Linked DNA regions of Homo sapiens: all the other regions are linked to region 1. The links are contacts of gene promoters, found by promoter capture Hi-C in human tissues and cell types (Jung and others, 2019). All regions are on one chromosome and are shown on one strand. Each heading gives the region's core, a stretch centred on a gene start or on the middle of the fragment in contact. The rest is flanking DNA. Distances are from core to core; before and after follow the strand shown.

Evidence for each region. The method cuts DNA at HindIII sites, captures the fragments that hold promoters and counts their contacts. A contact is called where the count stands out against the background at its distance.
Region 2: a fragment that was not itself captured here is called in contact with the fragment with the promoter of PRDM13 in region 1 in 1 of the 25 tissues and cell types used here (mesendoderm cells).
Region 3: a contact is called between a fragment that was not itself captured here and the fragment with the promoter of PRDM13 in region 1, in 1 of the 25 tissues and cell types used here (mesendoderm cells).
Region 4: a fragment that was not itself captured here is called in contact with the fragment with the promoter of PRDM13 in region 1 in 1 of the 25 tissues and cell types used here (adrenal gland).

Annotation. Positions count from the first base shown.
Region 1 is chr6:99,605,583-99,608,824 of GRCh38, reverse strand. PRDM13 (PR/SET domain 13) reads right to left here and starts at 1,992. Exons shown (of 4, transcript NM_021620.4): 1 at 1,647-1,992; 2 at 1-84. The coding sequence starts at 1,790. The HindIII fragment of the contact is 8,735 bases long and covers 1-3,242 here.
Region 2 is chr6:99,830,375-99,833,616 of GRCh38, reverse strand. No RefSeq gene overlaps it. Among named protein-coding and RNA genes, the nearest start is that of MCHR2-AS1, 160 kb to the left of the region's middle. The HindIII fragment of the contact is 3,906 bases long and covers 1-3,242 here.
Region 3 is chr6:99,809,394-99,812,635 of GRCh38, reverse strand. No RefSeq gene overlaps it. Among named protein-coding and RNA genes, the nearest start is that of MCHR2-AS1, 180 kb to the left of the region's middle. The HindIII fragment of the contact is 3,232 bases long and covers 1-3,213 here.
Region 4 is chr6:99,446,694-99,449,935 of GRCh38, reverse strand. The region is part of intron 13 of USP45 (ubiquitin specific peptidase 45); the gene reads left to right. Among named protein-coding and RNA genes, the nearest start is that of PNISR, 23 kb to the right of the region's middle. The HindIII fragment of the contact is 3,023 bases long and covers 62-3,084 here.

The DNA.
Region 1 (3,242 bases), core at 743-3,242:
GTTTCTGGCTGCCCGGATTAACCCTATCCACTCCAGAGGGGAGCCCCCCGACTCGTCCACCAGCTCCCCTCTCACCATGCGCACCTGCAACACAAGCAGTGGTCGTTCTCCCCCGCACCTTGGCCAGGCCCACAACCCAAACAGAAAGTTTATCCTCCACCCCAACCCAACACAGGAAAGTGGTTGTTTTTGGTTTGGCCAGACCACTATGGGCTACTGGGAGGAGGAGAATTCCTTAGGACCTTGCTTCGGGGAGGGAGAAAGAGGAAAGTCTACCTATGCTAACAGTACTCCCACTTCCCTGCGCCCCACCTTGACGACACGGGGAGGGGAGAGGGGTGTTGAGAGCATCCTCCCTGAGTGCTTAGGCACATCTTGTACCAAGTTGTCCCCTACCCCAGCTCTCCCATTTGCAGTTCTGAGAGCAGCCGTAACACCACGGTAGAGACATTTCTAGGTCAGTCCCAGGGCCCAGAGCGTACCCCCGACAAACAAACAAAAAAATTATCTCATGCCTCCTGTATTCTGTGTGCATCGCACCTAGTTGCCTGTGAGCCCTGCAGCTAAAGTCTCGGAACAAAGCCCAAGCGGGGAAAAGCTTGCCCGCAGCTGGCAGGCCATTTAAAAGCAATTAAAACGCGTTTAAAGAGGAATGCGCGGTGGGCACCAAACCCCGCTTTAGACTGTAGTGGGGGGCGTGATTGCAGGAGGAGCGAGGTGCAAGTCCCGCTGGCTGGACACCGGAGCTTTTTACTAGAAAGCTCCAAGCAAGGCAAGCTAAAGCCAAGGAAGCCAAAGTCCTTTCTTCTACCCCAGACTTCTGCCTTCATTTCCCGGTCGCTGTTTGCCGACCTTTGGCTCCTGGGACGCCCCCAAAGCGGGCGAGTGCTATAAGTCTCTCTGGTCAGGGGTCGCGACGGTGTGTGGAGTGTGGGAGTCAAAGCTAGTGGTTTGGCCCTGGCGCCTCCCGGTTGGGCCTCTGGACTCTCAGAGCCCCGCTGCAGACGCTCTGACCCTGTGCCCCGCGCGAATGGGCGCGCCTCGCCCTTGGAGCCCGCGTCAGAGCCAGTACCTTGCTCATCCTCTCTCCATATGCCGCATACCCACAAGCCGACATCGGCAAGGGAAAAAAAAATATCTGAGGAGGTTCTAGGAACTGAGAGCCTCCCAAAGATTTTTTTTTTCAGGAAAAAAAATTACTTTAAGGCGAAATTAGGCCTCAAATTAACATATTGAAGGGCAGAAGGGAAGAAAGGGTCTCGATGCCCTGAGCCCCCAGAAAGAGGGTGCTTTTGCAGAGAGAGCTGCGGACAGCGTGCGGGGGTGGGCTTCTGGCTTCTGACTGAGGAGACCCGAGAGCGCAGGGGAAAACACAAGCTGCGAATGGTCCCGGCACCTACAGCGCTCAGTGCACCCCACCCAGGGCTGTCGCCTCTCGGCCACATCCTCTCCTCTCAGCCCGACCCCGTCCAGCTCTCACAGTTAAAGAGGCTACTTGCTCAGAATAATAGGAGTCCCCTTCCACCCGGCAGAATTAGCAGGTAACGACTCAATCACTCCCTTCCTCCACTTTCTCTCGTACCCCTTTCCCGGGTCAGGGCACTGAGAGGCGAATGGCAGTGGGCAGAGGTCTGAATGGTCAATACCTTTTTCTTAGGCCCGGGCTCCCTGCGGTCTGACAGGTACTTGCCCAGCTTGAAGGTACCAGGCACCGGTCCGAGGCGCAAGCCGGCCGGGATGCAGCAGTCGGCACTCACGCTGGTGGCTGGCGCTCTGGCGGCTCCGTGCATTGTTGCCGCCGCCACCAGGCAGGCGCTCGGGTGCTCCAGGTCCTTGGAAGGGCGCGAGTGACAGAGCTGGAGCTGCGCGCTAGCCAGAGAGCCGCGCCCCGACGTGCGTCCTCCGCCCGCGGAGTGACGCGGGCGGGCATGCACTGCGCCTTTTCAATCGGGGCGGGAGCCTTTTGGCACCGCTAGCGCAAGGGCGCGGAGTTTGGTGAGAGAGTTGCGCTGCGAAGCAGCTGCAGAGTCCCACCCGAGAGGGTCACATGGAGTGGTTCCCTCAGCCCCCTGCATAATCGAGGCCGCTGAATGGCTAGCACACAATGGTCCAGGCGACCTTCCCATTCCTAAAAATCCAATTTGTCAAGGGCGAAGAAAAGGCACTGGTGAATCAAAGGTCCGGCGGGACCATTAATCCTCAGCATGGGGTATTGTCCTCCAGACAGTTACGATATTTTAAGTGACAAATCCACTGTATAATTTCTCCATAAATTTTACTTCCTTTTATTGTTCCCCGACAAACCAGTTTTGGGAAATAAGTGACTACTTTAAGTCTACTTGGCTGATTCCTTTGAGCCTTGATCTACTTCAAAGATTTTTAATTCTCTCCCCTTGGCTTTATTGTAAAGGAGATTAAACAAAGAGATGGAGACTGTTTGGAGGACTTGTTAACTACTATTGATTTCTGGCGTGTGCCATACAGAAATTAGGCAGGTACTTGATGGGAAAACACCAGAAAATACCTACACTTTTTAAATAACAACCATATTACCATTTCAGGGGATTGGGTTCAGGCCAGTCGTCTATTCAGAACCGCTTTAATTCTCACTTCTGTCCCATTTCGTCCGAAAATATGATGAAGCCTCCAGACCAAGTTGAGAAGGGGAGGTCAACTGCTCATCACTTTTCTCGGGCACACCCCGGGCCTGCACTTTCTCTGGAGAATGGGAAACAGCCCCAGAACCAACAGTTTCGAATGGGGATCCTGCGCCCCGGTCCGCAGCCCAGGGTTGAAGAGGAAGAAGTTCTACCAGTGGGTTATTGATCACGTCCCCTAGAAGATGTCCTTGGACTAACTTCCCTAAAACCAGCAACCTGGACTTTTCTATTAAAAAAAAAACAGTAAACAAAAACGAAAATCACCGCAATCTGTTAAAGGTTGTAGAGAAGAGGGGCGAGGTGGGCGTTTGGGACAACTCTTTCTTACACCTACTTTGTGAACTAACAAGACGTTGTACTTCAGAGTTAAACCGGAGAGCTACCCGTTTTCTTTTAGGGAAGCCTCCAATTGGCGTGAGAACATTTATTTTCATAAATAGTAGCCAAGTAATCAAGTTCATCAGATATTTGTGATTTCTGCCGGCACCTGCCGCGTGCTGCTAGTTCTGAGCACAGCTCCCCAAATCCTATGCAGCCAGCACCGGAGCCCGATGCAGTTCTTCCAAGAGAGGCCTGAGTGGT
Region 2 (3,242 bases), core at 392-2,891, 230 kb before region 1:
AACTGGATTATTGTCCTGGTTCTGCCATTAATAAGCCATTGACGTTTTATGAGCCCCACTGTCCTCTTCCACACAAAAAAAGACTTAGGTGAAATGAATAATCTTCAAAATATTTTGAAGGCTAATATTCTAGAAACAGTGTATGATTACCCTGCCTATGAAGAAACAGACAGGGAGAAGAAAAAGGTGCAGAGTAGGACTAGGCACCTGCCTGCAGGGCCTGAGCCCCCGATTTACCTCTGGCTTCAGCTGCCTGCTAAATCAAAGCCAGTGCCCATTCAGAATCAGCAAGTGCCCTTAGAGCAACATCACTTTTTCTTTCTTTTTTCTTTTTTACTTCTTTCTTTCTTTTCATTCCTTTCTTTTCTTTCTTTCTTTTCATTCCTTTCTTGTCTTTCTTTCTTTCTTTTTCTTTCCTTTCTTTTCTTTCTTTCTTTCTCTTTCCTTTGTTTTTTTTTGGTTTTTGTTTTGTTTTTTTTTTGAGACAGGTTCTCACTGTCGCCCAGACTTGAGTGCAGTGATGCAATCACGGCTCAGAACAGCCTTGACCTCTCAGGTTCAAATGGTCCTCCCTCTTCAACTTCTAGCCAGAGTAACTGGGACCACAGACTCACATCACCAAGTTGGCCAGGCTAACTTATTATTTGTTTTGTAGAGACAGTGTCTTGCCATGTTGCCCAGGCTTATCTCAAACTCCTAGCCTCAAGTGATCCTCCAGCCTCAGCCTCCCGAAGTGCTGAGATTACAGGAATGAGCCACCACGCCCAGCCTATTTACTTCTTTGAATTCAAGCTTTTGCTCTCAGTTTCCCCTCAAATTTTTGCTATCTGAGCCATGAATTCAAATTGTATTTTTTATGTTTATCCAGCATTTTGCAGCATTTCATGGTTGAAGAATTTTTTGACTATTCCATTATATTGCCAGAATTGGAAGTTACTATTCACCCTTTTACAATACCCACTGATACAAATAATAAAATCATAGGAAACTATACTGCAGACAGCATCCATGAAAATCCATCCCTGTGGCACAGTATCCCAGATATCTGCAACATCAAGATTAAAAAAATAATAATTGTTTAAAATCAAGGGATTAATCAGAATACATCTGCTCCAGTACTTAAGTCCATAAAGGTTTAGTATTTAATGCTACTTACTATCTATCTGAGATATTTAATTTAAGCTATGGTGATAATCTAGAAGCAAAGAAACATATTTTCACAAAAAAAGTCTTAGAATATTATTTTAACAAAATCACAATATTAATTTCCTCATCTGAAAGCACAAGTGAGGCCGCAACGGTATTATATTCCAAGGGTGGAAATCAATCCTGCCTTGGCCAACACAATCCTTCTCATCCCAGGTTCATGGAAAATTGAATTGTCACTCTCTTATTAGTTAGCTGAGTGGGGAGGGCTCCCAGCACAGGGATCTATAATAATTCTGGGCTGAAGTACCTGGGTTAGGCATTGAGCCAAAGCAGGGCTTCCCTCTCCCTATTAAATATCGATATTATCATCAACCACAGCCTGAAGCAGCAAGAATTCCCAAGCACCTAAGTGTTTTTGCAGGCAAGGCGTGGTGGCTCATGCCTATAATCCCAGCACTTTGGAAGGTCAAGGCAGGAGGATCGCTTGAATCCAGGAGTTCGAGACCATCCTGGGTAACAAAGCAAGGACTCATCTCTGTAAAAAATACAAAAATTAGTCAGGTGGCTGGGCACGGTGGCTCATGCCTGTAATCCCAGCACTTTGGGAGGCCGAGGTGGGCAGATCACAAGGTCAGGAGATCGAGACTATCCTGGCTAACACGGTGAAACCCCATCTCTACTAAAAATACAAAAATTAGCCAGGCATGGTGGCATGCACCTGTAGTCCCAGCTACTCGGGAGGCTGAGACAGGAGAATCACTTGAATCCAGAAGGTGGAGGTTGCAGTGAACCGAGTTTGGGCCACTGCACTCCAGCCTGGGCAACAGGGCGAGACTCCTTCTAAAAAAAAAATTAGTCAGATGTGGTGGCACATGCCAGTAGTCCCAGCTGCTAAGAAGGCTGAGGTGGGAGGATAACTTGAGTCTGGGAGTTCAAGGATACAATGAGCCATGATTGAGCCACTGCACTCAGCCTGGGAGACAGAGGGAGACCCTGTCTCAAAAAATAAATTAAATAATTAATTAAATGTTTTTGAAAGAGGAAAAAGAGCAGGAATAGTTAGGGCCCAAGGGGTCCTTGGTCTGAAGGCAATAGGAAGAGAAGGTAAGGCTGAACAAGGACACATTCTCTTTCAACACAGCATGCCTCTGGTAAATATGACCCAGTCCAAGTCCTAAAATCTGGTCAGATTAGCACCCCCTTTGGGGAGTATGGAGGAATAGAAAAGAAGTTGTAGAAGGAAAGAAAGACCACTTACCATTCATATATACATATTTCTTTTTCAAATCTCATTGAAACAGAAAACTACTCTTCTGGCATTTCAGATAAAACATGCCATATTGCTAAATATATGCATATATTATTTTATATATGCACGTATGCATATATATTAAACTAATATATATAAATTATGTTCATATATGTATGTATGTATGTGTATATGTATATGTGTGTATGTGTGTGTATATATAAAGATTTATACCAAAGGCAACATTTTTCTAAATTGGATTGATTTCCGAATTGATAAGGATCTGTACGTACATCTCTTATACAAGTTTTGCTGAGGAAACATTTTAGTCCTATACCCATATAAACAAACTATCATTGTAGCTAAACATACAGAAATGGCCTTACTGTAGGCCTTGCCTTCAGGTTTTTCAATCAAAACTGAAATTGTCAGACATGGAGATCGTCAGAGCTCCATGTTAGGTCTTAGCATGCCAACAGCAGGCATCCTTCAGAGGTTAACATTTTGGTAATATTCATGAGTAACTGAAATTAAAATTAAAGGTTTTTTTGTCCTCACTAGGACATGGTAGAAAAGTGCTAAAATACAACTATTTGTATTGAATGAATAGTTTATTTACTTTTGAAACTAGATTAGCATCTGGACTGTGATAAATCCACTAATTACACATTAAAATAAGGCTCATTCACTTCTTCAAAATGGTTCTAAACTGCTTAGCACAATTTCCAATTGAACTTTGACCTTTGATCTTACATTGAATAGCATTGATGGATCAATGTCACATGAATTATTTTACATTAATGAAACACTGAACCAAGAAGGAGCAAGTAGAAATTATTTTTTC
Region 3 (3,242 bases), core at 348-2,847, 200 kb before region 1:
TTGCACATGCTCACAATGTGTCTATTCCTGCAGAACTCCACTGCTTCCATGAATACCTCCAAAGACAAAGTGAAGTCCTCACATACCACTTAGTGATTTGAAATAACACCCAAGCTGTAACCAAGTTCATGCCCTTGACAACTAAAGCTTTCTTCCTGGGTCAAGCTAAGCACTACTTTTTACTTAGAATAGGTTATCACCCAAGATAAACAGGAGTTCTTATGATAATAGATAATAACTCCTTTAAGAGAAAAAGGTTAGGGTTGTCCAAGGAAGTGGGAATTTTGCTTCCAGACTGCTTTTGGACTTGAGCTACAACATCCACTCTTTCCTGAGTCTCTAGCCTGCTGGTCAGCCCTAAAGATTTCAGAGTTGTCAGCCGCTCTGGTATGATCATATCTACCCCTAATTCCCACTGGATTTGCATGAACATAGCTAAATTGCATTTGAATTCAAACTGTGACCTCCCTCCTCACTCCCTGCCCATCATACCCAAAATAAACATTTTTAATAATACAAAGGAGCAATTTGTTAAGTTCTAAGAGAATAACACAGACAACAATGAATATACATATTCACAGATAAGATTACTAGTTAAGAAGAAATTGTCTGAAACAAAGAATCATAATTGATCCTTTAAAGTCTTTAAGTATTTAGAGACCTAGAGAGGTTAAAAGCAAGAGTTCCAGGAAAATGTATCAGCAAGAGGAAGGCTGTCAAGGCAGGAGCATGTTCACATATTCAGTGATTACATGCAAGGAATCATGCCAGGACCTGGGGATGTTCAGATGGTTAAGGTAAGTCTCTGCCTTGTGGTAGCTTTGTAAGTCTAGCTCAGATAACATCTATATAAAATCCTTACAACTGTTGAATATGGAAAATGCTATACTTGCCACAGTTAAGAGAGTGTTAATATTCAAACAGTTAAATATTCAAACAGAGGAAGAGGTGATAGAAAGTATTAGGGAGGAGGTAATATTTGAGCTGGGCCCAAAACGGGTAGCATTACGTCAGGCACAGAAGGCAAAAAGGGAAATCCAAGCAGAGGAAATAGCGCAAGCAAACATATAGGACATGTTCAAGAAATTATGCCCATTTCTTAGTTAGGCCAGGAATGTCATGGGAGATAGGACAGGAATGTTAGGGCAGGCTTCTTAGAGCAGGTAATTAGGCAGACATGAGCAAGGCAGGAGAGGCCCCACCCCCAGGAATGTCAGGCAACCATCAGGTGATGGTCAGGTGGCTGTTAAACAACCACTGTAAAATAATAATTGGTCATGACCAGCACCAGGGAAACAGAGTCTCCCAGTAGGTAGTAAACACCTGAAGCTGGTGATCAGCAGCTTCCTGATAAGATCTCAGGAGCTGGATGAGTGGGCTCAAGCATGTACGCTAAGAGGCAAAATGGCAGCATTTAACCAGTACATGACCCTCCTTTAGGAACACTAGACTGGTAAGAAAAAAACACCTAAAGTGTGCTGTACAGCTTCAGTAAGCACACTGTGCATGTGGCCCCTCCCAAGTGCTGGCAGGCCACTGCACATGCAGACAGCTCGCTCCAAGGGAAGAATCAAGGGAGAAGAAACATAAACCCTGGAACCATGCCAATGTACAAAACCCCAAGTCAAGGGCCAGACAGGACACTTGCATCTCTTAAGTCACCTTCTTGACCCTCTTCCAAGTGTACTTTACTTCCTTTTGTTCCTGCTCTAAAACTTTTTGATAAACTCACTCCTGCTCTAAAATTTGCTTAGGTCTCTCTCTCTACCTGAAACCTACTTCTGCTCCTCAGCCAAATTATTTCCTCCAAGGAGGCAAGGGTCAGGTTTGCGGCAGACCTGTCAGATTCGCCACTGGTAACAGGCTCGGGCTGTGGAAGAACTTTAATCCCAGAAGTTTGGATTTTATTCTTCAGGCAGTGAGAATTCCCTGAAGAGCAAGCAATGGGGTCTGAGTAGAAGTTTTATGAAAATAAATCTGAAAACAGCATATGGTACAGAAAGCAAGAGTGGGGAACAAATTTATCTATAGATACAGGATGAGCTAGAAATCTAGCTGCAAAAGCTTATAGTAGAAAAATGGAAGGTTGTGAAAGACAGCACAAATGAACAGACAGGAGGCAACGTATGTGAGAGATGTTGCACAATAGAATAAACCAGGATGCAACAAGTGGTTGAGGTGACAGGTAAGAGATACAGACAAGTTAAAGAGGATGGCTTGATTTCTAGCTGGATGATGAGGTTGGTGATACAATTAACAGAAATAATCTCAGAGGGGAGGGAAGAAGATAATATGAACAAGTCATGTTCAGGGACTCAAATGTAAAACATCCTAGAATGGGCTTCTCAATAAAAGCTTCAGGAGATTTAGGAACACCCAAAGGGAATGAATACACACACACACACACACACACACACACACACACACACACACGCACACACACACAAAATCTGTCATCAAACTCTCAATCACATCTGAACTTTCCCCCAGCTTTTTAGCTTGGTTCTATTCTTCTAAATGGATAGAGCCTTTATATTGAGGAGTGAGTGGTTAGAAGTAAATTTGAAAAATTTGATGGCCTGTGAAGGAACTTAAAATCTAGATGAGGGGTCTTGCAGAAAAATGGGGGAAGTGGCATTTTTTAAATTGAGGCAAGAAACAATGAAAGTGATGTTTTAGCAGATTGATTTGAAATAAAAAGCAGAACTATTTGAAGAAAGAGACCAGAAATAGAAAGACCAGGTAAGAAGGCATTAGGACAATCCAGGTAATGAGCGAGCCCTGGGGAGAACAGAGAAAAACAACCTGGAAACAATCAAGGCAGATGTACAAGGACTGAGTGACCAGTTGAACATGGGAGTGAAGAGAAAGGTAAGCCTGACCTTGGTGATTGTGGTGCTGTTTGCAGAAACATGGACTTTAGGGAGAGACCGTTCTTACTGAAGAGCTATGCTACATGTGCTCAGTTGAAAGCAGTGCTGGGATGTGCAAGCAAACATGTTCAGGTCATCAAAGGAGTTAAAGAGTTATGCCCAGGAAAGAGTTCAGAACCAGAGACAAATTCAGGCATCATCAGCACCAATAAAACCCTAAAAGAGCAGTCGTGAGAATATGATCGTTGAAAAAAAAAAAAAAAAAAGCTAAACCTTGAATCAGAATAAAAAGAAAACTATCAGAACATATAAATTGAAACAAAATGGTAGAAACAATCTAGGTTTTGGTCCATGACCTTTCACTAAATA
Region 4 (3,242 bases), core at 324-2,823, 160 kb after region 1:
ACCAGTAGTCATTCAGGAGCAGGTTTTTCAGTTTCCATGTAGTTGAGCGGTTTTGAGTGAGTTTCTTAATCCTGAGTTCTAGTTTGATTGCACTGTGGTCTGAGAGACAATTTGTTATAATTTCTGTTCTTTTACATTTGCTGAGGAGTGCTTGACTTCCAACTGTGTGGTCAATTTTGGAATAAGTGTGATGTGCTGAGAAGAATGTATATTCTGTTGATTTGGGGTGGAGAGTTCTGTTCATGTCTACTAGGTCCACTTGATGCAGAGCTGAGTTCAATTCCTGGCTATCCTTGTTAACTTTCTGTCTCATTGATCTGTCTAATGTTGACAGTGGGGTGTTAAAGTCTCCCATTATTATTGTGTGGGAGTCTAAGTTTCTTTGTAGGTCTCTGGGGACTTGCTTTATGAATGTGGGTGCTCCTGTATTGGGTGCTCCTGTATTGGGTGCATATATATTTAGGATAGTTAGCTCTTCTTGTTGAATTGATCCCTTTACCATTATGTAATGACCTTCTTTCTCTTTTGATCTTTGTTGTTTTAAAGCCTGTTTTATCAGAGACTAAGATTGCAACCCCTGCCTTTTTTTGTTTTCCATTTGCTTGGTAGATCTTCCTCCATCCTTTTATTTTGAGTCTATGTGTGTCTCTGCACGTGAGATGGGTCTCCTGAATACAGCACACTGATGGGTCTTGACTCTTTATGCAGTTTTTCAGTCTGTATCTTTTAATTGGAGCATTTAGCCCATGTACATTTAAGGTTAATATTGTTATGTGTGAATCTGATCCTGTCATGATGTTAGCTGGTTATTTTGCTCGTTAGTTGATGCCGTTTCTTCCTAGCATTGATGGTCTTTACAGTTTGGCATGTTTTTGCTGTGGCTAGTACCAGTTGTTCCTTTCCATGTTTAGTGCTTCCTTCAGGAGCTCTTGTAGGGCAGGTCTGGTGGTGACACAATCTCTCAGCATTTGCTTGTCTGTAAAGGATTTTATTTCTCGTTCACTTATGAAGCTTAGTTTGGCTGGATATGAAATTCTGGGGTGAAAATTCTTTTAAGAATGTTGACTATTGGCCCCCAATCTCTTCTGGCTTGTAGAGTTTCTGCCAAGAGATCTGCTGTTAGTCTGATGGGTTTCCCTTTGCGGGTAACCTGACCTTTCTCTCTGGCTGCCCTTAACATTTTTTCCTTCATTTCAACTTTGGTGAATCTGACAATTATGTGTTTTGGAGTTGCTCTTCTCAAGGAGTATCTTTGTGGCGTTTTCTGTATTTGCTGAATTTGCATGTTGGCCTGCCTTGCTATGTTGGGGAAGTTCTCCTGGATAATATCCTGCAGAGTGTTTTCCATTCTCCCTGTCACTTTCAGGTACAGCAATCAGACATAGATTTGGTCTTTTCACATATTCCCATATTTCTTGGAGGCTTTGTTTCTTTTTATTCTTTTTTCTCTAAACTTCTCTTCTTGCTTCATTTCATTCATTTGATCTTCAATCACTGATATCCTTTCTTGCAGTTGATCAAATCGGCTACTGAAGCTTGTGCATTTGTCACGTAGTTCTCCTGTCATGGTTTTCAGCTCAATCAGGTCATTTAAGGACTTCTCTACACTGATTATTCTAGTCAGCCCTTTGTCTAATCTTTTTTCAAGGTTTTTAACTTATTTGCATTGGGTTCGAACTTCCTCATTTAGCTAGGAGAAGTTTGATCATCTGAAGCCTTCTTCTCTCAACTCGTCAAAGTCATTCTCCGTCCAGCTTTGTTCCGTTGCTGGCGAGGAGCTGTGTTCCTTTGGAAGGGGAGAGGCGCTCTGATTTTTAGAATTTTCAGCTTTTCTGCTCTGTTTTTTCCCCATCTTTGTGGTTTTATCTACCTTTGGTCTTTGATGATGGTGACTGACAGATGGGGTTTTGGTGTGGATGTCCTGTTTGTTAGTTTTCCTTCTAACAGTCAGGACCCTCAGCTGCAGGTCTGTTGGAGTTTGCTGGAGGTCCACTCCAGGCCCTGTTTGCCTGGATATCAGCAGCGGAGGCTGCAGAACAGCGAATATTGCTGAATAGCAAATGTTGCTACCTGATCGTTCCTCTGGAAGCTTTGTCTCAGATGGGTACCCGGCCGTGTGAGGTGTCAGTGTGCCCCTACTGGGGGGTGCCTCCCAGTTAGGCTACTCGGAGGTCAGGGACCCACTTGAGGAGGCAGTCTGTCCGTTCTCAGATCTCAAACTCTGTGCTGCGAGAACCACTACTCTCTTCAAAGCTGTCAGACAGGGACATTCAAGTCTGCAGGGGTTTCTGCTGCCTTTTGTTGGGCTGTGCCCTGACCCCAGAGGTGGAGTCTACAGAGGCAGGCAGGCCTCCTTGAGCTGTGGTGGGCTCCACCCAGTTCGAGCTTCCTGGCCGGCCGCTTTGTTTACCAACTGTTAGTATTATATGTATAATAGGAAAGTTTGTTTCCAAAAAAAAGTACTATATAAATTCAGCGGAGTGGAACTTGTTGGCTAATGTTATTTTTCCTGATTTTGCAGATAAAAAAAATTGAGGCAAGACACTTTTTATAACTTACTCTTCTTCCCCTGAATAACTAAAACTGAGTATCAATTACTCATGATAGTCTTTTCTTTATTTTTTGTCTTGACCCTTCAGCCAAGGTATAGGAAAAGAAAAATGTACTTCAAGCCATCAGCTGTGTGGAAACTTTAGTGAAACATTTCAGGTAGCTTAAAATTTTTAATTAGTTGATTCCCCCCTTCCCAAACTTAGGTTATTTTTTTCCCGTAATTTTCTTCCAGATCTATGGCAACCAAGCAACACTGTGTCATAATAGTTTATAGTTTACTTTTGTTACTTTTTAATTTGTTTAAAAAACAGATACATTTTCAGTGTTTAAAAATGAACAAGTATGGAAAGGCTTATACAGTAACTGAAAAGTCTCCTTTGGGAAGCCAAGGTGGGAGGATTGCTTGAGGTCAGGAGTTCAAGACCAGCCTAAGCAACATGGCGAGACTTTATCTCTACAAAAAATTAAAAAATTAGCCAGGTATGGTGGTACATACTTGTAGTAGTAACTACATGGGAGGCTGAGGTGGGAGGATCACTTGAGTCCGAGAGTTTGAGGCTGCGGTGAGCTGTGATTGTGCCACTGCACTCTAGCCTGGGCAACAGAGCAAGATGCTGTCTCTAAAAGAGATTTTTCTTTTAAAGAAAAAAGTCTCCCTCATAGCCCTGTTCTACAAAAGTCCTATTTCC